7 separate regions of the Homo sapiens genome follow, and all the other regions are linked to region 5. The links are contacts of gene promoters, found by promoter capture Hi-C in blood cells and fetal thymus (Javierre and others, 2016). All regions are on one chromosome and are shown on one strand. Each heading gives the region's core, a stretch centred on a gene start or on the middle of the fragment in contact. The rest is flanking DNA. Distances are from core to core; before and after follow the strand shown.

Region 1 (3,334 bases), core at 49-2,548, 670 kb after region 5:
TAATGTCTCCATTGCAAAATCAGCCAAAAAGTAGCTCCAGCTAATTCTGGGACTGGGGCCACATGTAGACTATTTCAATAGGTGATCTGGGTCCTTCATTCCCTCTTTGCCTTTCTGGCCAGGCATGGTGGCTCATGCCTGTAATCCCAGCACTTTGGGAGGCTGAGGTGGGTAGATTACCTGAGGTCAGGAGTTCGAGACCAGCCAGACCAACATGGTGAAACCCCGTATCTACTAAAAATACAAAAATTAGCTGGGTGTGGTGGTGAGCACGTGTAATCCCAACTACTTGGGAGGCTGAGGCAGGAGAATCACATGAACCTAGGAGATGGAGGTTGCAGTGAGCTGAGATCCCGCCATTGCACTCTAGCCTGGGCGACAGAGTGAGACTCCATCTCAAAAAAAAAAAAAAGAAAGAAAGAAAAAAGGTTTTTTTGGTTTTCCAAACTCCTGTGATCCTCAGGAGCTCCAGACTCCGTGTTCAGATAGGAAATCGAAGGACATGAACACAACACAGACATGAGGGAGAACACCTGGGCTGGGCTCCCAGATGTTTGACTAGAACTGATCACCAATTCCTTTCATTAAACTCAAAACTTCCTGGACGCTTAGGCCTCCTGGACCAGGAGGGAGCCCCAAACCTGCCCTGCAGGTCAGCGCCTTCGGGAAGTTACTTCATTCAGTCTGCACTTTCCTGAAGCCCACACCATTTAACGAGGGCAGTAAGAGCAAAATAAACCAGAAATTTAATAAATAAACAGAAAATAAACAAACCAAGACTTTTCTTTCTCTGGATGGCCTTAGGTTGGCCAGGTGAACAAATCAATGCAAGGACACATCTTCCTGAAATTATTTATCTCACCCCACCCACTATGAAAAAGGCCAGAGCTTATTTAGCTATGATTCCAGGGAAAGGTTCAAGTTCTTGAAAGCCTTTTGAGATTTTGGCCTAGGGATTAACAGAACTCTGGGCGCAATGCTTTGGATTTCAGACTAATCAAGTTATTCCACAATCATCTATTGGGTACCTTATATTTTCTGGGTGCTGAGTTGAAATGGTGGAATCCTCTAGAGATTACTAGAACACAGACCGTGCTCTCCAGCTGCTCAGGGTGGAGTAGGGAAGATTAAACTATGAAGTGGGTAACTCTGGCTAGAAGGAAAAAAGTGCTAAGTGCCACAGAGAAACATAACCAAATAATAATAATCATTTATGTTTGAACAGGACTTCTTTTTTGTTTTTTTGAGATAGGGTCTCTCTCTGTCACCATGCTGGAGTGCAATGGCACCACCATAGCTCACTACAACCTCGAACTCCTGGGCTCAAGCAATCCTCCCACCTCAGCCTCCTGAGTAGCTAGGACTATAGGCACATGTCACCACACCTGGCTAATTTGGTTTTTGTTTTGTTTTGTTTTTTGGTAGAGACAGGGTCTTGACACGTTGCCCAGGCTGGTCTCGAACTCCTGGCCTCAAGCAATCTCCCTGCCTTGACCTCCCAAAGTGCTGGTATAACCACGCCTAGCCTGATCAGGACTTTCGAAGTCAGTTTCCTCATATTGTCTCACTTGATCCCCAGCACAACTATGGTGGAGCTCTGCAGTTATTCTCATCTAGCATCCTTTCACCATGCTGGAAATGCACCCTAACTTCTCATTGCAGAAACTCCACCCACCCACACTCATCCCATGTGTTGCTGCCAGGGATGCACCCCAGGGTCTGAGGTAGAACAAGTCCCCTGGGCCCTAGGCAATCCAAGCATCAAATTCTCCTGGCCATAGTGACCACCTCAGGGATGGGCACATGACCCAATGAGAGTCCGTGATAACTTTGTTGTGACTTGAGAAAGATGTTCTCAAGCTAGTCAGCTGGACTTGAAGCAGAAAGATTGGGTTCTAAGAGTGCTGCCAGCCATCAGGCTACTCTTTGAACCTGGGCATAAAGGTGACAGAGCAAAAGGCAGCTCTTAGAGAAGATAGTCAGACTCCTGCTGATAGCATTTGAGCTTTGAGTCCACCCCATGCCTGAAGCCATCTCTACCCCTGGACTTTTCACCTATATAAACCAATCTATGCCCTCTTCAGGATGGATTTTCCTTCACTCAAAACCAAAATGGTCATAAAAGTGACTTTAATTCTGTGAGGGAAATATTTCCATCTGTTTTAGATAATAACTGAAGCTGAGATAGGTAAAAAGAGGCAGCTAAGGAGTAACAGAGCCAGGTCCTGAGCCCCTAAGTCCTGATATCAATTCACAGCTTGAGTCCTTTACACTGCAGTGGACTTCTTCAATCGCAGAAATACAGAGGAAGCACACAAAACTTTAAGCTGAGAAGATTAGTCAGGCTTCATAGCAGCACCCATTGAGCTGGACTTTGAAAGACGTGTTGGATTTGGCCTGCAGTAATGCCAAAAGTGTATGGTTAGTTACTTGGGAGGCTGTGGCAGGAGGATTGTGTGAGCCCAGGAGTTTGAGGCTGCAGTGAGTTAGGATCATGCCACTGCACTCCTGACTGGGTGACAGAACGAGACCCAGTCACCTGGGGAAAAAAAAGTACCTGGGTAAAGAGCGCATCATACGCAAAGACATAGGGCCAGGTGTGGTGGCTCACGCCTGTAATCCCAGCACTTTGGGAGGCCGAGGCAGGCGAAACACGAGGTCAGGAGTCCGAGACCAGCCTGGCAAACGTGGTGAAACCCCGTCTCTACTAAAAAAAATACAAAAAATTAGCCAGGCGTGGTGGCACGCGCCTACAGTCCCAGCTACTTGGGAGGCTGAGGCAGAAGAATCACTTGAACTCTGGAGGCGGAGGTTGCAGTGAGCCGAGATCGCCCCACTGCACTCCAGCCTGGGCAACAGCGAGACTCCATCTCAAAACAAACAAACAGAAAAGAGCACATTATATGCAAGGACATGGATATGAGAAAGCTCAGAGGTACACAGAAAATAACAAGCACCTTTGGTTTCTCTAAAGCATTGGGTAGATAAGAGAGGAAAGTAGGAAACTGAGTTAGAAACATACTTGGGGCAGAAAGTTTGGAGGACTTGAACTTTATCCTGAAGGCCAGAAATTCTCAGACCCCACTGTATTAAAGATTGGCTGCAAGTGACTGATACTCAATTTTGGCTAGCTTAGTTGCCCTATATCTTGGGGATGAGGCTATTGACCCAGTAAAGAGAATTCGAAAGAACCCACTCAGGAAAAAAAGTCAAATTCTTGGCTTTTAGTTCCAAAATAGTGTCTTCTTTTCTTTTTCTTTTCTTTTTTTAACACAGGGTCTTGCTCTGTCACCCAGGCTAGAGTACAGTGACATGATTACAGCTCACTACAGCG
Region 2 (3,294 bases), core at 400-2,899, 710 kb after region 5:
CCTTATCTTTGCCAGCAACGGGAGCATCTGCAAGGTTCCAGGAGAAACTCCATTTGGTCCAGCCCAGATCATATAGGTGCCCCTGTATTCAAGGGAGTGGTGCCCATTATTAGAAATTTGTGGGGGCAGTAGAGGATGATTATTGGACAAATCTTTGCAAGCCAGGTGACTTGCTCAATTTCTATTGACTGCATATGTTAATAACTTTTTGTTTGTTTGTTTGTTTGTGTCTGTGTGTGTGAGAGACAGGGTATTGCTCTGACATCCAGGCTGGAGTGCAGATCTTGGCTCACTGCAACTGCCGCCTCCTGGGCTCAGGTGATCCTCCCAACCTCAGCCTCCCAAGTAGCTGAGACTACAGGTGCATGCCATCACGCCTGGCTAATTTTTGTATTTTTAGTAGAGATGGGGGTTTCACTATGTTGCCCAAGCTAGTCTTGAACTCTTGAGCTCGAGTTTTTTTTTGAGATGGAGTTTCGCTCTTATTGTCCAGGCTGGAGTGCAATGGCATCATCTCAGCTCACTGCAACCTCCACCTCCAGGGTTCAAGCGATTCTCCTGCCTCAGTCTCCACAGTAGCTGGGATTACAGGCATGCACCACCATGCCCAGCTAATTTTGTATTTTGAGTAGAGACGGGGGTTTCTCCATGTTGGTCAGGCTGGTCTCAAACTCCCGACCTCAGGTGATCCGCTCACCTTGGCCTCCCAGAGTGCTGGGATTACAGGCGTAAGCCACGGCGCCCGGCCCCGGCCTCAAATATTTTTTAAAAGGAAAAAAGAGTGGGAAAGCTTCAGTAATCCCACCAGTCACGTAAATGACAGCTGTTGTTGGCCTTCATTCTTTTAATGCTTTAACAACAATCCCATGTGTACAATTTTGTTTGCTGTTTTTTTTCTTACTTTATTATAACACATAAATTTCTCTAATCATAAAAACTTCTTGAAACGCTGCTTTAAATATCTATATAGTATACTCTAAAGACTCACCCAGGCTGGAGTGCAGTGGCATATTCTCAGCTCACCGAAACCTACAGCTCCCAGGTTCAGGTGATTCTTCTGTCTCAGCCTCCCAAGTAGCTGGAATTACAGCACCTGCCACCACACCTGGCTAATTTTTGTATTTTTAGTAGAGGCGGGATTTCACCATGTTGGCCAGGCTGGCCTTGAACTCCTGACCTCAAATGATCCACCCATCTCGGCCTCCCAAAGTGCTGGGATTACAGGCGTGAGCCACCGCTCCTGGCCCTCTGAAGACTTTTAGCCACTTCATCCAGAAGGAAAGAAGGCAGCAGCAGCAGAGTGAGGAGGCATTCCTTCTATACATGTGCCTCTGTCCTCAGTCCCCTGAGGCACTTTCAGTTCCTGGGACACAATTCCAACTTCAGAGGAGAGAGCATTAAACTGGAATTCCCCTCCCCATTTCCTGCACTTCCCAAAACTTGTCTCATTCACACTTATTCTTCCTCCGCTCCAAACTCAGAGAACTTGCTACAAATTTGGCTAGTGGTTCAGCCAAACACTTTAGGTTTGAATCCTGATGCTGTAGCTTCGTATCCTGATGCTGTAGCTTTGTAATTGGGGAAACATTTTACCTCTCTTAAAAACCATTTGAAAAATGGGGATTTTGTCACAGAGTTCTTATGAGGATTAAATGTCATTATGTATGTAAAACACTTAGCACGTAGATGATAAATAATACCAAAATCAGCAAAACCCAGGCCAGGTGCAGTGGCTCGCACCTGTAATCCTAGCACTTTGGGAGGCCTAGTCGGGCAGATCACTTGAGCCCAGGAGTTTGAGACCAGCCTGGGCAACATGGCAAAACCCTGGCTCTACCAAAAATACACAAATTAGCCAGGAGTGGTAGTGCACACTTGTGTCGCCAGCTACTTGAAAGACTGAGGCAGGAAGATCATTTGAGCCTGGGAGGTCGAGCCTGTGGTGAGCCAAAATTGGGCCACTGTACTCCAGTCTGGGCTACAAAGTGAGACCCTATCTCAGCAAAACAAAACAAAACAAAACACCCCAGCAAAACCCAAAGAAGATTCCCCTCTAATTATAGCTCTCTCCTCCCTTCCCCTTCTCTTTCAGCCATGCTTCTTGCAAATGATCTGTGCTTGCTATCTCTATTTCCTCATCTCCCATTTACATCTCAACCCATTGTAATCTGGCTGTTTCCCCTGTACTGACACCGCTCACCAAATATCTTCTAATGAACTCTAGATACCTTCACAGAGCTTTGAGTCATTGTTCAATCTTTTCTGTATTAGTCACAGTTAATCAATTTCTCCTTCAAAATTCTCTTATTCTCTGTCAGATTCCATCCAGTTTTCCTAATTCTCAGCCTGCACCTTCTTACTCTCCTTTGCTGCCTGAACACTGTCTTTTAACTCAGGGGTTCTCAACCCCTGAATTAATGGCAAAACCCCCATGGTACCAGTTCGTGCCCTGTTAGGAACCGGGCCGCACAGCGGGAGGTGAGCAGCGGGCAAGCCAGAGAAGCTTCATCTGTATTTACAGCTGCTCCCGATTGCTTGCATTATCACCTGAGCTCCACCTCCCATCAGATCAGCCGTGGCATTAGATTCTCCTAGGAGCACGAACTCTACTGTGAACTGCACAAGCGAGGGCTCTAGGTTGCATGCTTCTTGTAAAAACCTAATCCGTGATGATGTGTCACTGTCTCTCATCACCCCAAGACAGGACCATCTAGTTGCAGGAAAACAAGGTCAGGGCTCCCACTGACTTACATTATGGTGAGTTGTATAATTATTTCATTACATATTATAATGTAATAATAATAGAAATAAAGTGCACAATAAATGTAATGTGCTTGAATCACCTTGAAACCATTCCCCTGCAACACCCCAACCCCAGTGAAAAAATTACCTTCCACAAAACCGGTCCCTGGTGCCCAAAAGATTGGAGATCGCCTCTTTAATTAGTATTTGTCTTCAACCTTCATATGTCTAGAAAAAGCATGATTCTTTGCTATGAGATCTGAGTTGGAATTCTGACTCTGCTACCTACTAAATTGATTTCCTAAATTATTTTACTCCCTTGAGCCTTCATACTCTCACCTGCAAAAAAGTTCCTCCTCTCCTGGATAATCATCCTAAATTGAATTGTATACCAAACCTATATTTCCAAGCTGGGTGCGGTGGCTCACACCTGTAATCCCAGCACTTTGGGAGGCTGAGGTGGGCAGATCACAAGGTCAGGAGTTCCAGACAAGCCTGGCCAACATAGTGAAACCTTGTCTCTACTAAAAATACAAAAATCAGCCGGGCATG
Region 3 (3,610 bases), core at 473-2,972, 730 kb after region 5:
AACAAAACAAACTCACTTTAAAAGGTGCATCTTCCCTGTTAACCTTACAAATGCGAGGCTTGTCTTAATCTCTGGAAGTATCAGCTTTAAAATCTGCAGTTTTAAAAGTGGTCATCTGCGCAGTACTCGAAGGCCTTTCAAAACACAGGTGCTGAACACCTCCTTCTTTAAGATACCTTATCTACGGTAGGATGTTCCTAATCACACGGAGGCCGGCCAAACTCTGGGCACCGCAAACCCACGATAAAAACAAATGCTGGGCCAAGACCTTGTCCAGAAACAGGCCTCAGTACTGCCTGGACTTAGGATGAGTCTGTAGGACTGTAAATGCTTGGAAGGCCAGCCTTTACTCCCAAGTCCAAGCGTAGTCTCCCTGCATGCCCCAGACCTTTCCCCCATCCACGCCACACGACACGACACGATCAGGGCGGGACAATTATTTTTCTTTAAACTCCTTCTGCCCGCGCCGCCCAAATTACAGGCCCGATCGCCGCGTTTAAAAGGCATCCTATGGCTCGGGAGTGTCAGGTGGCCGGGCCGGCACCCTCCAGCATCCTCGCGAACCGCGTTATCGGTGCCGCACTCGGGGCTGACACGCTCGGGGCGGCCCGGACTCAACGGGCGGCAAATCCTTGGCCACCCGGACGGGCCGATCGGCCCCTTTGTAAGATGAAGTTCCAGACGAGGCCCATTGTTCAGTTACATAATCTCAACGGACAACCTCGGGGCAGGGCCAAACACAAGGGCTGCCAACTTTGGGGGGCGGCGCAGGAAAGCGAGGGGGGAGCGGCCGGCCGCTTCTGTAACCGAACCCAGGCAGCGGCGCTGGCCCCTCCGGCGCCGCGGCCCCGGCCGCCGGGTGCCCGCGCCCGCCGCTCTCACCTTGGGCGTGTGCGGGGTGTCGAAGAGTCGCAGCTTGCGGAAGGTCTTGTGTGGCGGGGTGCCCGGGTGGTCCGGCCGCGGCGAGCGGCGGCCTTCGCCCGCCCGGCGCGCCCCGCAACCCCGCGGCGACGCATCTCCTGGGCCGCCGCAGCGCACCGGCGAGAAAGAGCTACCCAGGAAGTAGGGGGCCGCCGGCGACTTGACCGGCGACGAGGAGCCGAAGCCCTCCTCCTCCCACGAGTCGCCCTCCGCCCCACCGCCCGCCTCGTCCGCGCCCGGGCAGGCGCCGGGCAGCAACAGGTCCTCCTCCAGCTCGCCGGGGCTGCCGGGGGCCGGCCCGGGCGAGCGGCGGCGCTCGGGCCCGGGCTCCGTGGGGCTCCGCGCGGGCGGCAGCGGCGAGTCGGGCTCTTGAAAGGCCGAGTCCTCCCCGGTGCTGTGGCCGCTGCCCTCCTCCTCCTCCTCTTCTTCCTCCTCCTCACAGTCGCTGCAGGGCGAGAAGATCAGCTTCTGCCGCAAGGTGCAGGCCGCCCCGGCGCGGCGGGGTGGCGGCGGCTGCTGTCGGCTCAGGAAGCTCATCGCGGCCCTGGGGACGGGGCCGAGGACAGGAGAGCGGAGGCCTGCGGGGTCCAGGACACTGCGGGCCTGGGGGCGGGTCCGCCACGTGCGGCTGGGCGCGCCTAGTCGCAGCCGCGGCGTCTCTGCGCGGCGGCGGCCTGCGGCTCCGGGGCGCTCGGGCTGCGGACGGTGGCGGCAGCGGCGGCGCGGACTTTCCGGCAGAGGCGGGGCGGCCCGAGCACCGAGGCTGAGGTCTCCTCAGGTCCAGTCTCAGGTTCGGGCTCCGCGGCTTCCCGCGACCGTTAACCACGTGAGTGCCCAGTCCACCAATCCCAGTGCAGCTCCGGGTTTGAAAAAAAAAGGAGGGCGCGACGTAGCCCGCGGGGGAAGGACCAGCTACGCGATTTTGGCGGGAACCCGCTGGCTCCACCCCCGGCTCGGCGCCAGCCAAGTCTGGGCGGGCTGTGGTGTTCCGGGCCTATGAGCGAGCCTGGGGCGGCGGGGGGCCCGGCCCGGCGCCGCCCGAACACCGCCCGGACGGGGCTGGGCCTTCTGGGAGGGGCAAAAGAGAGCTGGATTCGCCTAAGCCGACCCGAAAGCCGGCCTGGACGCACCCCCCTCGCTGCTCCTCCGGTGCTGGGGGATCTGAAGAGGGGCAGGCGGCCGGGCAGCGCCTCCGGGTCTCTGCGAGCTGGGAAGAGCCAGGGACCGAATGGCCTTCGGCCGCTGCCCTCGGAGGCCGCTTCTTGCCCCTCGTCCCCTGGGGCGAGCCACTGGGGCGTAGTGGGCGTGGCAGTGGGCAGCCACGTTCAGGGTCGAGGTCTGAGCCGGAAATGGTGACTCGGGCCTCGGGACCTTTCTGAACTGCGGGAGCCGATGTGCTTAGGCTGGACACTGGCTGGGAGGAGGCCTCCGAGCCCCATTATTTCCCCGGGGTGGGTGACTGTTAGGGGCGGGTGTCAGCACAGCGAGAAGAGCTCTCCCAAGCAGGGGTCCACCTCTGCCGACCTTGTCCGCGGCCAAAAGAAACAGCAGCACAGTTGCCCACCACGAAACCAAGTGCCCGGCACACGATCTCCGTGTTTACATTTGTTCGCCAGCACGTGGGCATGCGTTGGCAAAACCGATTGGCCCGGCTCGCGGCAAACTCAAACGCAATTTTAAAAAATTTCCCTAGTGCTTCGTTAAACTGATTTAATCTGTCCCTTAATGCACTTACACGTTTCTTCCAGTTTTCTTTTTTCTTTCTTTGTTTATTTATTTTTTTTTTTTTTTCTGAGACGGGGTCTTGCTCTGTCACCCAGGCTGGAGTGCAGTGGCACGATCTCGGCTCACTACAACCTGCAACCTCCGCCTTTAGAGTTCAAGCGATTCTCATGCCTCAGCCACCCGAGTAGCTGGGATTACAGGCGGCTGCCACCACACCTGGCTAATTTTTGTATTTTTAGTAGAGACGAACTTCCCAATGTTGGCCAGGCTGGTCTCCAACTCCTGATCTCAAGTGATCCGCCCGCCTCGGCCTCTCAAAGTGCTGGAATTACAGACGTGAACCACCGCTCCCGGCCTCTTCCAGTTTTCTGTTGTAAACAACCCCGTGGTGTATATGCTTCCTTCTCCATGTTTTTTGTTTGGTTTGGTTTTTTTCGACACGGAGTCTCGCTCTGTCGCCCCAGGCTGGAGTGCAGTGGCGCGATCTCGGCTCACTGCAGCCCCCACCTCCCGGGTTCTCGGGTTCCAGCGATTCTCCTGTCTCCCGGGTAGCTGGTATTACAAGCACATACCAGGCCTGGCCAATTTTTGTATTTTTACAAAATGCAAAATACGGAGTTTCACCATGTTGGCAGGCTGGTCTCAAACTCCTGACCTCAGGTGATCTGCCCGCCTCGGCCTCCCAAAGTGCTAGGATTACAGGCGTGAGCCACCGCGCCTGGCCTTTTTAAAATACTCTTTTGGATACCTCCCTGGAGTTAGAATTCCTCAGTCAAAGGATATAAACTGGCAAACTCCCCCTCCAGAAACACAATACATTCTCACTAGCAGTGGATTAGAGCACACTCTGTGAATTCAGGACATCAGTGGATGTTCGTTGATGTGGTTTTGTTGTTTTGATTCATATTGTTGAACAGTTGTCATGGGTTTAATGATAATTTACATTTATCTCTATTGCCTATTT
Region 4 (3,528 bases), core at 49-2,548, 520 kb after region 5:
CAGCATGGGAGCCCCAAAGCACACAAGTGACAAGGCTTTCTTTGATGTAAGTTGATCTTACTTCTCTTTTCCTGGCTCTGTCTGCACATCATTCTGTCTGTCTCCAAGAATGATGGAGCCCTCAGAGTAATTGGTGGTGACTACAGATGGATGACAGACCCCCTTGGCTATGGGAATTGTTCCAGAGCTTGAACTCAGCATTATTGACCCCCAAGGCTATCCTCTCTTCCTGTCTGTATGTCTCAGAAAAGCTACATATTGCTTTGTGCAAAAGGAGTCCAGCGCACATGGAAACAGATGAACTCCTTGTTAAATGTTGTTAGTTATTTCAGTCACCACCTACTTTCAAGAACAGATGCTATTTCCCTAGTATTCAGTGGTCTTCGTGCTTGACTACCCACAAAAGACTGTCCTTAGTCACACATGATAAGTGTCTACGCTAACATCTTCAGCAGCCCTTAGGTAGGCCATGGGGCACTTTATAGGCCACATAATAGAAGGAGACTTATGTAGTCCCTGGAGTCAAGCAGGGCTTTATAAAGAGGATAGGTCATCCTCTATGGCCCTGCTCAGGCCATGAGACCGTTTTCCTGACAGTGGGCTTCCAATATGGCTCCAACTAAAGAAAGGGGACACGAAGGCCAACTTTATGGTATGCATGAATCTCAGGCATCCCCCTGGAGCACAAGGAGCTCCCTCACCTTCAGTGCATTGGTGCAGTGCATGGGAAAGGTTAAAGGCACCATTCATTGCTGACCCTTCCTCCTTAGTCAAAGACGACACTAAGAAAATGCAAAATAAGGCGCTCCCAGTGTGTCTCCCTTTCCTGCCAGTACCCTTCTATCAACATCCCCTATGACTCTAGAGACCACAAAAGTAAAGGCAATAACAGTATGGTAGTTGAGGAAGAAAAATTCATACAGACGTTCTGGGGCAGTATGGAAAAGAAAGGTCACAGGAACTGATTTACCACTTACCCAAATCCATAAAACAGCCCTGCCCTTCATCTCTGGTTCACTGTCATTTGGTTTTGTAGCTCAAGACCAGCAAACGTGTGTATAACTTCTGCGCCCAGGATGGACAGAGTGCCCAGCAATGGATGGACAAGATCCAGAGTTGTATCTCTGATGCCTGATGCCCATGGTCAACCCACGCAGAAGAAACAGAAGAACTCATGCTGCCAGATAGATAGAAAAAGAAGCATGGATCCTTGAGGAGCTGACAACAAGTTATCCCAGGGCCTGAGGTTCTCCTGCCCAGTCCCCTCTTGCAGGGGTTGCTATATCTACTTAACCTGAATAGGTGTTTCACACAGGTCTGGTCAACAGCCCCATGCACTCCCTGTATCTTGCACTAAATTTTTCTAACAGGGTCTTAGTGGTTAATGATCAGAAGATGTCTCCTGAGCCAACTGTGAACCTCACCCAGGCAAAATGGCTACCACCTACTTGGGTCCTTCTTCATGAAAGCTATAGATCCTTTTTTGTTCTCTGAGGTCATAATTTCCTCGGAGACCTGTTTAACAAGCAAAAATCAAAACCCTCCAAGATTGTCTCATATTCTACCTGGACTAGGTTTCCTATGAGAGACATCTACTTGTAATGCCTGACCTTTGAGATGCTCAGTTCTCTGGTGCTGCCAAAAGATGCTTCCATGGTCCGTGCTCTGCCAGTGGGGTTCACAACAAGAGACGTCATTGTTCAGTAGCAGGCAAAGAGGGAGCACACAGCATTATTCTGATGGAAAAAGATTATCCAGGGAATGGTACAACAATGACCAGCCCAATGCAGGAAAACACTACTTCCAAAACACTGAATTCTCTAGACCAGAGGTGCTCTGAGGATCCAGGGCCTTGTGTTCTTATGTATCTTCTGCTTCCTGACAGCTTCTTTTTCAAAATAACATGCAAAAAAAGCTGAATGCACTAACTCACAAAACAAACACTTGCACTGAATTCCCAATGAAGTGAAGATGTTGGAAAGACAGAGGCCAGCTATTTAGGACCATACGCACCTGTGACAAGGGCTGTGTTGACCACAGTCACACTGTGGCATGACTGGATACCCAAACTACACTTCTACACATGAAAAGTAAGAACTGTCTTTAGATTTTCTTTACTTTGATAACTTGTGATTGTTTAGCTTAAGACCCAAGAAATGCTGTTTGCTCATGGTAAACAGAAACAGCATCTTCGCTACAACCACTGACACCAGCTGGCGTCATAGGTAGCTAGATCATTGCATTTGTTTTGAAATGTTAATATGTTAAATACTAAACTAATATTTCAAAAATGTGTATATATGATTTCTATATCCTTGTTTTTCAGATAGCCTGCTTATAATTTAATATAAATTAACTGATGCATTCATAAGATTTCAATAATGAAATGGTTCCCTTTTAAAAAATAAAAATACTTTGTAGATTAAAAATAAATCAGAATTTCAAATTTAAAATTGTCCACACACTAGGAAATAGAACTGTGTTAATATATAAGAAATCTGGGGATAATTAAGAATGAAGGACTTTTCTATCATTTCCATTTTATAAATTGCCACCTGTGAAAATGGTTTTTGCACATTATTTGTATTTTTCTTTGTATATGAAATAATTTTTTGTACTTTGTAAAATATGGAGCCCATTGTACCTTCAGCTATTTGAGACTATACACAGTGCTTCTTTTGTAACTGGATTACTTTAACTTTCGTGAAGGCATTACATTGCCTCACATTCACTAACCACCTTGAATTAAATTTATTTCTTAAGAAAAAGCATCCCTCATTTACTGTGAACTAAAGTTCATTCTGTAGTGCACAGCATTCAGGAGGGTAACACTCAGGATTCATACATGGGACTAAAGGTTCAAGAATAAAACAAAGCATGACCCACTTTGTTCCTTCATTCTCCTAATGTCATCACTGCCCTTTGCTCAAGAAGTAACTAGGGATACTGGACATGTTAGCATGAGCTTCTGGGTTCCAGACACACTTCTGCAGAGTTTAGGTAAGAGACTTGAGGCCAAGATTCTCATATGTGCTGCCACTCCTACCACTGTCTCTAATAAGCTGTTTGAAATTGCTTAAGTCCCTTACCTATTCTGGGTCCATTCCACCACCCAGAGTATATGGTAATTTGTGAAAATTTTAGGCATGAGACATTGAAGTCTGTTTGAGCAGCAGATTTTTCTGCTTCAGGGAACTTTTTTTTTTTTTTTTTTTTTGAGACAGAGTCTCACTCTGTTGCCCAGGCTCTGGAGTTCTGGAGTGCAGTGGCGCAATCTCGGCTCACTGCAAGCTCCACCTCCCGGGTTCACACCATTCTCCTGCCTCAGCCTCCCAAGTAGCTGGGACTACAGGGGCCCACCACCACGCCCAGCTAATTTTTTGTATTTTTAGTAGAGATGGGGTTTCACCGTGTTCGCCAGGATGGTCTCAATCTCCTGACCTCGTGATCCACCCTCCTCGGCCTCCCAAACGGAATTGTTAAACAGTACAAATGATCAGTGATTTCAGTTCTAGACAGTACTTCCTT
Region 5 (3,608 bases), core at 486-2,985:
GGGCCCTTGCAAAGCCAGAGCTCGCCGCCGGACGGTGCCTCCCGGACTCAGGGTCTCCGCAGGGCTGTCAGAGCCCGGTCCCCACACCGCTCGGGAAGTCCTTCGTCCCGGGAGGCACCAGCGGGATGCTTGCGCGACTATTCCTTGTACCATGGGCGCCTAAATCCTAAAGAAAGTGGGGAGCACTTCCACTCGGGGGGGCTGGAGCCCCGTGTGCTTGTGGCTTAGAAGACACCAGAGTCCGACCCGGGCCGGCCTCGGGCAGGGAGCGCCGGCGCCGGCGGCCGTAGCCCTGGGGGCTGATCTTGCTCCTGGGGGCGACGTTGTCCTTGTCCTTATCTGTGAACTGGTAGATCTGGTGTGCCAGCTTCTGCACCGTGCACGTCCCGAAGCGGCAGCCAAAGCTCCGGAGGCCCTGGAAGTTGTTCATGCTCTGGCGGTAGCGCTTGACTCGGATGCGGGCGGCATCCGGACTGCTGCGGGCGGGGGGAGGGGGAAGAAAGGCAACTTGAGACCCCATCAAGCAGAGCTTTGGCCCCAACACCGGGAACGGGAGCCATTCTAGAGCCAGAGGGAGCTGGAAACTGCTCGCGCCATCTGAGCTGCGGTCCAGCCCCGACGATCCCCCGGGCCAGGGGAGTGGAGACAGAGAACTCCTCCCGCACACCTTCCTTCCCTCCCGTCCCTGGACAGCACAGGGCGTAGTTACCTGTCTTCGGGGCTTCGAGAGGCACCCTTCATGTCCTGGGGCCGAATAAGGGTCTGGGCAGGCCCGGCCTTCACGTCAGCGAGCCCGGTGGGGTAGCTGCTGGACATCCGCAGTTCCCTCTTCCCACGACTCAGAGCCCACTTATTCCACCTGGAAAACACAAGCAGACCCGATTCGCGTGCGTTCAGGTGACGCCCAGGCCTGTCCCTGCTCCCATTCACTTCTAGACCTTCGGGACCAACGGTCAGTTCCCCTTGCCTGCCAGGTACCAGCAAGGGGGAAGGCGCTGCCCGGACTCACTTCTTTCGAAACTCCGACGCGACATCCAACCGAGCGGTGTCAGCGCCTAGGAAGGCGAGCGAACCCAGGTACATCAGGGCGACGGAAACCAGCTTCATCCCGGCTGCGAAGCGCAGACCCTGGAAAAGAAGAAAGAGAGTCGAGCGTGAGCACCCGGGCCAGCTGCACCGCCCGGGCGGGGCACGGAGGGCGGGCAGGGGCCCCGGCGAGGCGGGTTTAGCCCGCGCTTTCCCTGGCTCAGACGCTTATCTCCCTCCGCGCAGAGAGGCGCCAGAGGCGTTTGCACGCGCCGGCCGGGTGACAGGCCCCGCAGGGGAGGCCGCTGCACCCCGCCAGGCTCCCAGAGGGTCTCTGCTCAACTTCTTGGAACTTGGCTGACGGAGCAGAGGGGACTGGGTCTCTGGACCTCCAGCTGTGTGCACGAGCTGGGCCCAGGATATGGGGTGTATCTATCTCTCAGAGAACCCTCCAAAGTGGGTTGTTCCCCTCACCCAGCGCTCCCAGTTTAGGGCCTTGGCAAGCACTGCCCCCCACCCCACCTCTTAACCCGCAGGGTCTGCGGCACCTACCTGCTAAGAGAGTGATCTGCCAAGTACTTGAAGGAGAAAGTCTCAGACGTCCCACTGGCAATGGCAAAACTCCGAAGTCCAAGCCCAGCTGCAGTGAGAAGCCCGAAGTGGCAAGGCTTGAGCTGTTCTATCCAGTGTCACCAAGAAACCACTGAGTGGCCAGCTCTGGTTCCTGTGCTTTATAAGCGCACGGGTGGGGGAGCGGCGGGGCGGGGCCTGGGCTGCCCGGTTGCCTTCCCTTTCTTTCCTCAGCCACGCGCGCTCCTGCTCTCGGACGCGCGCATTGCTTCCTTTGGGGCTGGAGTTGGGATGGGGGGAGGGGGGAGCGGGGGAGAGGAGGTCCCTCGTGCCCAGAGGGCTTAGGTATGGGCTCCAGGCGGTTGGTGCAGGAACTGCCACAGCCCTCTTTGGGCACAGGGTTCAGACAGTACGCCGGAGCGAAGGGGCGCCACTACAACCTCTTGAGGTCCTTATCCAGGACCCATGCGGCCCGGAGTGCAAAGCCTCCTGGCGAAGAACAGCAAGAGCCCGCGGAAGGGACAGCGCGGATGGCCCGAGCCCTGGACCTGGGGAGCTGTGGCCTCAAGTGGACCGCGCCCCCCTGCCGGCTTGGCGCCTGACCGGGCCGCGACCCCAGACTCCCGCGGAGGGGCCGGGGCAGGGACGGAGCAAAGCCGAGAGGAGCAGGACTCACTAGTCCCCCAGAGGACCAAGACCCCGGCGTTTCGGGGTGAGCTAGTAAGATTTCACGGTAGGGACAAGGCTCAGAAAAGCTAAATTGAGAATTGGGATTTGGAGGGGGGAATTATCTGAAATTTCAGAATTTTCATTTCTATTTGGAAACATAGGAATAACCAAAATTAGGAGGAAATATACTGTTTCATTTTGCCTCCTTGTAATCCTATTATGCCTTATAAGGTCATAACCTGAGATTGTGCCTGGCTGCCTTCATTAATCCATCGTAAACGTGAGGACTGACTGCCAGGGAGCACACTAACGCTTCACGTATGCTAATCATTTTACAGTTTACCAAGCACGGCCACATCCCAGTCTACTTTGAGCTTCACAGCCACCCTTGAGTCAGGCAAGGAAGGTAACATTCCTTTTCCCATTTCAGCAGGTAGAAAATTCAAGCTCAGAGAGGGGAGGTATCTGCAGAGAGGGGAAGTCACCCTGCAGGTAGGAAGCAGCAGAGTCCCTACTCGGCCCGACACGCTAGCACGGCCGACTGGGGCGCGGCGTGGATTCCTCTAGGCTGGGGTCACCAACTTCTCAAGGGGCAAAGGAGAGTCCTAGCCCCCGCCCAAAGAATTTGTGCCTGTTCATGATGAATCACGCTAGACACGTTTGTCACCCGTTTGTGCTCTTTCATCACAGCTTCTTCTCTTTCTTACTTCTCTCCTGGGGGCCAAACTGGGAAGGAAAGGCTAAGCCACGGGGCTTCCTGCTTCGTGCTTGTGGGTTTCTGGGGTCCTACTAACCACTCCTCTAATCGAATGTCCTGAAGCCCAGCGACTCGACGGAGAGGCCAAAGGTGCGAGACCACTAGCCAAACAGGCTTCTAGTCCTCACCTCCCGGCAATTCGCTGTGTGAAGGTGGGCGAGTCATGTCCCATCTCTCGAGTCCCCATCTTAGAGCCGGTCCCCAGCAGACCTTTAAGCTTCCTTCCTACTCTGCCATATGGCTCTGAGCTCCGGTGCAAAGGCGGCTGGGCAGTGGGTCGCGCGGACCTTGCCCAGAGTGGTCTGTCTGGGCCGCGCACTGCTGGCTTAGCTGCCTTTTCACTCTCGGGACTCAACAGTGGACATTGCACCTGGGGAAGAAATGGCCGCGCGGAAGTTATTTAAGGACTCTTCCTGGAAGGAGTCACCTGAGCGGACCTGAATTCCATCTGAGGACGGAGGACAGATTCCGGGCCCTGACCCTGGCCCTGGTAAGGGGTTGGGACGCGGAGGGTTAGAGGAGTGCAGCGCGGCGCACTGGTCTGGATCCGGCCGCCCGGCTGGGCGCAGGGCAGTCACCGAAGTGG
Region 6 (3,408 bases), core at 616-3,115, 780 kb after region 5:
GCCCAGGCTGTAGTGTAGCTGTGCTACCTCAGTTCACTGCAACCTCTGCCTCCTGGGCTCAAATGATCCTCCCACCTCAGCCTCCTGAGTAGCTGGGACTACTGGCATGCGCCACCACACCTGGCTAATTTTGTATTTTTAGTAGAGATGGGGTTTCACCATGTTGCCCTGGGTTGGTCTTGAACTCCTGACCTCAGGTGATCCACCTGCCTCAGCCTCCCAAAGTGCTGGGATTACAGGCATGAGCCACCGCACCCGGCCCCCAGATCCTATGTATATTAAAGAGATAATAAGGAAATAGTATGAACATCTTTATATCAATAAATATGAAAACTTAGATGAAACAGACAAACTTACAAAAACAAAACTTAGCAAAATGGATACAAAAAAACATAGATAACTTGAATAGTATAGATCCACTTAAAAACTTGAATCCATAGTAAAAAACAACAACAACAACAACAAAAAAAAAACAAAAAAAAACCTCCGCAAAAAGAAAACTCTGGGCATAGATGGTGGTGTCCTAATTAACTCTATCAAGCTTTTATGGAGAAATAATACCAATCTTACACAACTATCAGAAAATAGTACAGAAGAGAACACTTCCCAACTTGTTTTATGAGGCAAGCCTAACCCTGATATTGAAACAGGAGATGAAACTTTTTCTTATAATTTCATAATAAATTATAGATCAATATGGTTCATAAACATTGACACCAAAATCCTTAACAAGATATTAGCAAATTGTCACAGAGGATTTTAAGGGCAGTAAAAATACTCTAATAGAGTATGATCCTCTATTGATAGATGTATGTCATCATACGTTTGTCCAAACCCATAGAATGTACAACACTAACAGTGAATCCTGATGTAAATGATGGACTCTGGGTGATTGTGATGTGTACGTGTAGGTTTCAACAGTAACAAACGTGTTCCTCTGGTGGGGGTGTTCATTATGCAGGAGGCTATGTATGTGTGGGGGCAGGGAGTGTAAGGGAAGTCTCTGTACCTACCTCTCAATTTTGTGGTGACCTATAACAGCTCTAAAAAATCATCTTTAAAAAATATTAGCTAATTGAATCCAGCAAAATACAAAAATACATCATAACCAAGTGATATATTAGCTTTTTTATATGTAAATTAAAACCACAATGATAGACCACTTAACATCCAGTAGAATGGCTAAAACTTTAAAACAACTCCAAATGTTGGTGATAATATGAAACAAACAGAATTCTTTTTTATTTTTTATTTTTTTGAGACGGAGTCTCGCTGTCACTCAGGCTGGAGTGCAATGGTGCAATCTCAGCTCACTGCAACCTCCACCTACCGGGTTCAAGCAATTCTCCTGCCTCAGCCTCCTGAGTAGCTGGGACTAAAGGTGCACACCACACCATGCTAATTTTTTGTATTTTTAGTAGAGCCAGGGTTTCACCATGCTGGCCAGGCTGGTCTCGAACTCCTGACCTTGTGATCCACCTGCCTCAGCCTCCCAAATTCCTGGGATTACAGGCATGAGCCACTGTGCCTGGCCTCTTTTTTATTTTTTTTAGAAGACAGGGTTTTGCTCTGTCATCCAGGCTGTAGTACAATGAACATGGCTCACCAAAGCCTCAACCTCCTGGGCTAAGTGATCCTCCCACTTCAGCTTCAAGAGTAGCTGGGACTACAGGCATATGCTGCCATGCTTTGCTAATTAAAAAAAAAAAAAAAAAAAAAAATTGGACAGGCACAGTGGCTCAGCACTTTGGGAAGCCGAGGCGGGTGGATCACCTGAGGTCAGGAGTTGGAGACCAGCCTGACCAACATGGTGAAACCCCCTCTCTACTAAAAATACAAAAATTAGCTGGGCATGCTGGTGGGTGCCTGTAATCCTGCTACTAAGGAGGCCGAGGCAGGAGAATCACTTGAACCCGGAAGGCGGAAGTTGCAGTGAGCCGAGATTGGGCCACTGCACTGCAGTCTGGGCGACAGAGGGAGATTCCGTCTCAAAAAAAAAAAAAAAAAAAAAAAAAAAAATTGGTGGAAACAGTGTCTTGCTACATTGCCCAGGTTGGTTTTAAAATCCTGGGCTCAAGCAATCCTCCGACCTTGGCCTCCCAAAGTGCTGGGATTACAGGTGTGAGCCACTGCGCCCAGCCTATTTTTTAAAAACGTTTTAACCACAAGAAGCAGCACTGAACAAATGGAACTCTTAGACATTGCTAGTGGGAGTGTATGACAGCCCAGCCACTTTGGAGAATTGTTTGGTACTATCATAGAAAGGTAAATATGCCTCTATTCTATGACCCAGCAATTCCACAAATAGGTATTTATCCAAGACAAATGAGAGTATATGTCTACAAACATATTTTTACTGCCATCTTATTCATAATAGTCAAAAACTGGAAGCATTTCAAATGTTCACCAAGGGGAGAATATATCAACAAGTTGTGGTATATTCTTACAATAGAACACTGCTCAGCAATAAAAAAGAATGAACTGTTATTACATGCCAACAATGTGAATAAATATCCAAAACGTTAAGTAGAAAAACCCAGACACAAAAGAGTTCATACTGTGGTTCCATTTATGTAATGTTCAAGAATAGGCAAAACCAAGCTGGGTGCGGTGGCTCACGCCTGTAATCCTAGCACTTTGGGAGGCCGAGGCGGGCAGATCACTTGAGGTCCGGAGTTCGAGACCAGCATGGCCAACATGCTAAAACCCCATCTCTACTAAAAATACAAAAAAATTAGCCAGGCGCGGGAGGTTGCAGTGAGCTGAGAACGTGCCACTGCACTCCAGCCAGGGTGACAGAGTGAGGCTCTGTCTCAAAAAAAAAAAAAATAGGCAAAACTAATTCAATCACAACAGTTTTTGCCTAAGGAGAGTGAGTACTGACTATAAAGGAATCACAAGGTAACTTTCTAGCGTGATAGAAATGTTCTACATTTTGTTTAGGATGTTAGTTATATGGGTGCATATTTAACATAACTCATTGAATTGTAAATTTAAGATCTGTGCATTTCATTGTTATGTAAATTTTACCTCAATTAAGAAAAAACCAGATTGCAGGCAAATATGAAAAACAGGCTTAACTTCACCAGTGGTCAAATGAAAATAAACAGAATTTAACTTTTGCTTGTTAATTCTGTAAATATTTTAAAAAATCCTCAATGCAAGAGTACAGTGAAAAAGAAAGCTTTTAGATCCATAACACGATTACTAAACCTTTCTGAAAAATAATTTGGCAATATGTAACAAGCAGCTTAAAATAGCTTAAACCGTTAATACAAAAATTTGTTTCCTATGAAAATAACCAGAAGCTTTTTTTTTTTTTTCTTTAAGACGGAGTCTCACTCTTTTTGCCTAGGCTGGAGTGCAGTGGTGCAATCTCGGCTGACTGCAACCTCTGCCTCCTGGGTT
Region 7 (3,611 bases), core at 726-3,225, 580 kb after region 5:
CCTATGGAAGAAAGAAAGGATCAAAGTAAGGAAATCCCAAATCAGTTATTATTCAATATAATAATGTAAGAAGTTTCAAAGAATCACCAAAAAAATATAAATTGTATTTAACAAGCATCGAGCTTCATCTGCTATGCTGGGTGCTGAGAAAAAGAGGACAGTCTAAATAAGACAAAAGCAACTTTGCTACATAAAGGTATTTTTTTTTCCACAAGTAGAGGTATTTTTCTGATTTTATAAAAATAATATAAAATCATATAGAAAGTCCAATAATACAGAAAGGAATAAAGAAGAAAAAAATTCACCAAAATCCCACAATCTAGAGGTGATCACTGTAAACATTTTAGCAAGCACCTTCCTGACAGCTCTACACACATGCATAACATTACCTGAAGGGGATTACAAGATATCTCCTGTTCAGCAATGTGGTTTTTTTTCACTCAACGTTATGCCATGGAGATCTTTCTGGATCAGTGGTTATGAATTTCCAAAATAAAATATTTTGGAAATGGCCTGGGCGCGGCGGTTCACGCCTGTAATGCCAACACTTTGGGAGGCCAAGGCTGGTGGATCACAAGGTCAAAAGATCGAGACCGTCCTGGCCAACCTGGTGAAATCCCATCTCTACTAAAAATACAAAAGCTAGCTGGACGTGGTGGCGCACACCTGTAGTCCCAGCTACTCAAAAGGCTGAGGCGGGAGAATTGTTTGAACCCGGGAGGCGGAGGTTGCAGTGAGCCAAGATCATGCCACTGCACTCCAGCCTGGTGACAGCGTGAAATTCCGTCTTGGAAAAAAAAAAAAAAAAAAATATATATATATATATATATATATATATATATATATATATTTTGTATTTTTAATACAGACAGGGTTTCAACATGCTGGCCAGGATGGTCTTGAGCTCCTGACCTGGTGATCCACCCGCCTCAGCCTCCCAAAGTGCTGGGATTACAGGCATGAGCCACCACGTCCAGCCAAAATATATATATATATTTTAACTGTATTCTTAACTGTACTTTAAAATCGCACAAATAATTTTTTTTAATGAAAGCCTAATACAAGACTGGAAAAATAAGAAATTTTATTCCTATTCAAAATCAGGCCAGGCCCAGTGGGTCACACCTGTAATCCCAGCACTTTGGGAGGCCGACGTGGGTGGATCACTTGAGGTCAGGCATTCGAGACCAGCCTGGCCAACATGGTAAAACCCCATCTCTACTAAATATACAAAAATTAGCTGGGCATGGGGGTGCATGCCTTCAAGGCAAGAGAATCCCTTGAACCCAGGAGATGGAGGTTGCAGTAAGCCAAGATCACGTCACTGCACTCCAGACTGGGCGACAGAGCAAGACTGTCTCAAAAAAACAAAAAATAAAAAAACGAAATCAGTGTAAGAAAATAAGTGACTTATACTCATCTTTGTGACAAAAATATTAATTTTAAAATGTCAAATTCTAAAGATGAGAAAAAAAAACAGTAACAGAATTCTTACCTGCTTTAACACATCTAATATAAGTTCATTAAAGACTTCATTAATTGCCATAGACACAGTCTGCCGGTCCATGCCTTTGCTAAACTGTCCATTTCCAATAAGCTCAATAAGTTCCCATGCAGAAAGGCCATTTTTACTGTCATCAAAGTTGATTTTATAATGTTCAAATTGTTCTTGCTGCCAACCTCCTCCCATAGCTTCTGTAAGCTTCTTAAGCAGGTATTCAATCTACATAAAGAATGTGAAATAATTATTTCCTAGTTAAAAAAAACTTTAACATAGTTATGTATTTATGTTATAAACACTGATAAGTTCAACTTAGGAAATACTCTTTACAGTTCCAAAAATGCCTACCTTTAGAGTCTCCTAAAATACAGGGAGAGAAGTATAAATAAAATGCCACTGGTCTGTATTAGTGCAGAATAAGTAAAGGAATCAAAAACTGATAACCCTCTAATAGTGTAGTATATTTGTCTGCAGAACTAAAACAAACTGCAGATATATGACAGCATACAAACTAATTAATGTGATCTGATTACTCGCTGTTAAATATTTCAATATATCAGAACATTAGTCTTACTCAACAAACAAGCGCTAAATTAAACATCTCAAAGTAATATGTACAAGTTATTGATCAATTTACAAACTTTCCACATAAGCCAATTATTTAAAATTCATGCTGCTTCCTCCCACTGGAACACTACAATGTTGTAAATAATGGTGGAATACCTAGCATGAGCAGGAAAAGCTTACTAAATCCTAAAACATCATACTTTGTGTAGAAAATACTGCTATTGAAATAATAGCAGTTAGGCCAGGAGCAGTGGCTCATGCCTATAATCCCAACACTTTGGGAGGCCAAGGCAGGAGGATCACTTGAGGCATGGAGTTCAAGACCAGCCTGGCCAACATGGCGAAACCCTGTCTCTACTAAAAATACAAAAAAGTTAGCCAGGCATGTGGCGCACACCTGTAATCCCAGCTACTCAGGTGGCTGAGGCATGAGAATCGTTTGAACCTTGAAGACAGAGGTTGCAGTGAGCGGCGATTGTGCCACTGCACTCCAGCCTGGGCAAGAGCAAGACTCTTGTTTCAAAAAAAAAAAAAAAAAAAAGTAAAGAAGGAAAGAAATAACAGCAGTTAAACAAAACAATAAGGCAGTAAAACTGAATGAGAATTGATACCTCTTATTTTCTGGAAAGCCCAAATATCCTATACAGTGCTCTCAAACTCAACATATGTCCAAAAATGAATGAATCCTCTCTACTTTCCAAATGGCTTCCCCGCTGTATTATTGATTTCCATTAGGAATAACACCATTCACACATCCATGTCAGGATTCTTGCTCCCCAACCCCCACATCAAACCAAGGATATAATCCTGCTGTTTTATTTCCCTAAATGAGCTCCCTAATAAGTTTGAAAACTGTGGGTTATGGCCCACTATGAAGTCAACTTAGTGGGCAGCAACCAGCATTTTTTTTTAATGGAATGAAAAACATGTGAGTTCATCCACAATAAAGAAATAGTGTTTTGTGATAAGTTTTGCTTTGAGTGTGTGTGTGTGCTGGGTCATGATATAAAATGTTTATCTTCCTATGGGTTGCAGTGAAAATAAAATTTAAAACTTTGTCCCAGGCAGCTCTGAACTCTGTCACTCCTATTTGATCTGCTTTTGGTCGGGCCTCCTGGTTGGTATCTGTACCTCCAGGTCGCCACCTTTTATACATATTCTGCCAGAGGGATTTTTCTAAAACAAAAGCCAGAGCCTGACCCTCCCCTCTTTAAGCCCTGCCCTGGCTCCCTATCACCTCAAAGACAGAGGCCAAGCTCCTCTGCATCCCTTGGTGATCATCCCCCAGCCTACTTTCTCAAACATGTCCCACCTCAGACTTTACACTCCACCAATACCACCAATACCATAGATCAGGGGATGCAAACTTTTACTGTAAAGGGTTGAACAGTAAATATTTAAGCTTTGTGCCTCCCTATCATGTGTTCTTCCTTGATTTTGTTTTTTTACAACCCTTTAGAAATATAAAAACTATTCCTTAGCACATGTGCCACGCAAATATAGGCTGTGGGCTGGATTTAGCCAGCAAGCTGTAGTTTGCCAC

What was found. The method cuts DNA at HindIII sites, captures the fragments that hold promoters and counts their contacts. A CHiCAGO score of 5 or more calls a contact.
Region 1: a contact is called between a fragment that was not itself captured here and the fragment with the promoter of ADM in region 5, in 1 of 17 cell types (neutrophils). The highest score is 5.5, in neutrophils.
Region 2: a fragment that was not itself captured here is called in contact with the fragment with the promoter of ADM in region 5 in 1 of 17 cell types (naive B cells); the score reaches 6.5 in naive B cells.
Region 3: the fragment with the promoter of WEE1 here is called in contact with the fragment with the promoter of ADM in region 5 in 5 of 17 cell types (naive CD8 T cells, total B cells, activated CD4 T cells and 2 more); the score reaches 6.0 in naive CD8 T cells.
Region 4: a fragment that was not itself captured here is called in contact with the fragment with the promoter of ADM in region 5 in 8 of 17 cell types (activated CD4 T cells, naive CD8 T cells, naive B cells and 5 more); the score reaches 8.6 in activated CD4 T cells.
Region 6: a contact is called between a fragment that was not itself captured here and the fragment with the promoter of ADM in region 5, in 2 of 17 cell types (naive B cells and total B cells). The highest score is 6.9, in naive B cells.
Region 7: a fragment that was not itself captured here is called in contact with the fragment with the promoter of ADM in region 5 in 1 of 17 cell types (naive B cells); the score reaches 7.1 in naive B cells.

What each region holds. Positions count from the first base shown.
Region 1 is chr11:9,635,499-9,638,832 of GRCh38, reverse strand. No RefSeq gene overlaps it. Among named protein-coding and RNA genes, the nearest start is that of SWAP70, 27 kb to the left of the region's middle. The HindIII fragment of the contact is 7,235 bases long and covers 1-3,334 here.
Region 2 is chr11:9,593,731-9,597,024 of GRCh38, reverse strand. No RefSeq gene overlaps it. Among named protein-coding and RNA genes, the nearest start is that of WEE1, 22 kb to the right of the region's middle. RefSeq lists an enhancer at 1-44 and silencers at 285-354, 515-564. The HindIII fragment of the contact is 1,713 bases long and covers 793-2,505 here.
Region 3 is chr11:9,571,782-9,575,391 of GRCh38, reverse strand. WEE1 (WEE1 G2 checkpoint kinase) reads right to left here and starts at 1,722. Exons shown (of 11, transcript NM_003390.4): 1 at 883-1,722. The coding sequence starts at 1,458. RefSeq lists silencers at 1,100-1,199, 1,490-1,699, 1,720-2,069 and an enhancer at 1,644-2,496. The HindIII fragment of the contact is 14,841 bases long and covers 1-3,610 here.
Region 4 is chr11:9,778,025-9,781,552 of GRCh38, reverse strand. SBF2 (SET binding factor 2) reads left to right here. Exons shown (of 40, transcript NM_030962.4): 39 at 1-46; 40 at 1,037-2,885. The coding sequence ends at 1,135. All of the region lies in intron 1 of SBF2-AS1 (SBF2 antisense RNA 1), which reads right to left. It overlaps LOC105369149 (a long non-coding RNA gene), which reads right to left and starts at 1,006. Exons shown (of 3, transcript NR_188521.1): 1 at 978-1,006. The HindIII fragment of the contact is 5,847 bases long and covers 1-3,528 here.
Region 5 is chr11:10,303,200-10,306,807 of GRCh38, reverse strand. It overlaps ADM (adrenomedullin), which reads right to left and starts at 1,735. Exons shown (of 4, transcript NM_001124.3): 1 at 1,579-1,735; 2 at 1,010-1,128; 3 at 710-859; 4 at 1-476. The coding sequence starts at 1,107. The coding sequence ends at 167. It also overlaps a transcript of SBF2 not described here. RefSeq lists silencers at 1,144-1,193, 1,214-1,263, 1,944-1,993, 2,174-2,273, 2,764-2,823 and 1 more. The HindIII fragment of the contact is 5,037 bases long and covers 1-3,241 here.
Region 6 is chr11:9,518,637-9,522,044 of GRCh38, reverse strand. All of the region lies in intron 14 of ZNF143 (zinc finger protein 143), which reads right to left. Among named protein-coding and RNA genes, the nearest start is that of WEE1, 53 kb to the left of the region's middle. The HindIII fragment of the contact is 2,643 bases long and covers 544-3,186 here.
Region 7 is chr11:9,722,770-9,726,380 of GRCh38, reverse strand. SWAP70 (switching B cell complex subunit SWAP70) reads right to left here. Exons shown (of 12, transcript NM_015055.4): 4 at 1,496-1,723. Among named protein-coding and RNA genes, the nearest start is that of SBF2-AS1, 34 kb to the left of the region's middle. The HindIII fragment of the contact is 541 bases long and covers 1,705-2,245 here.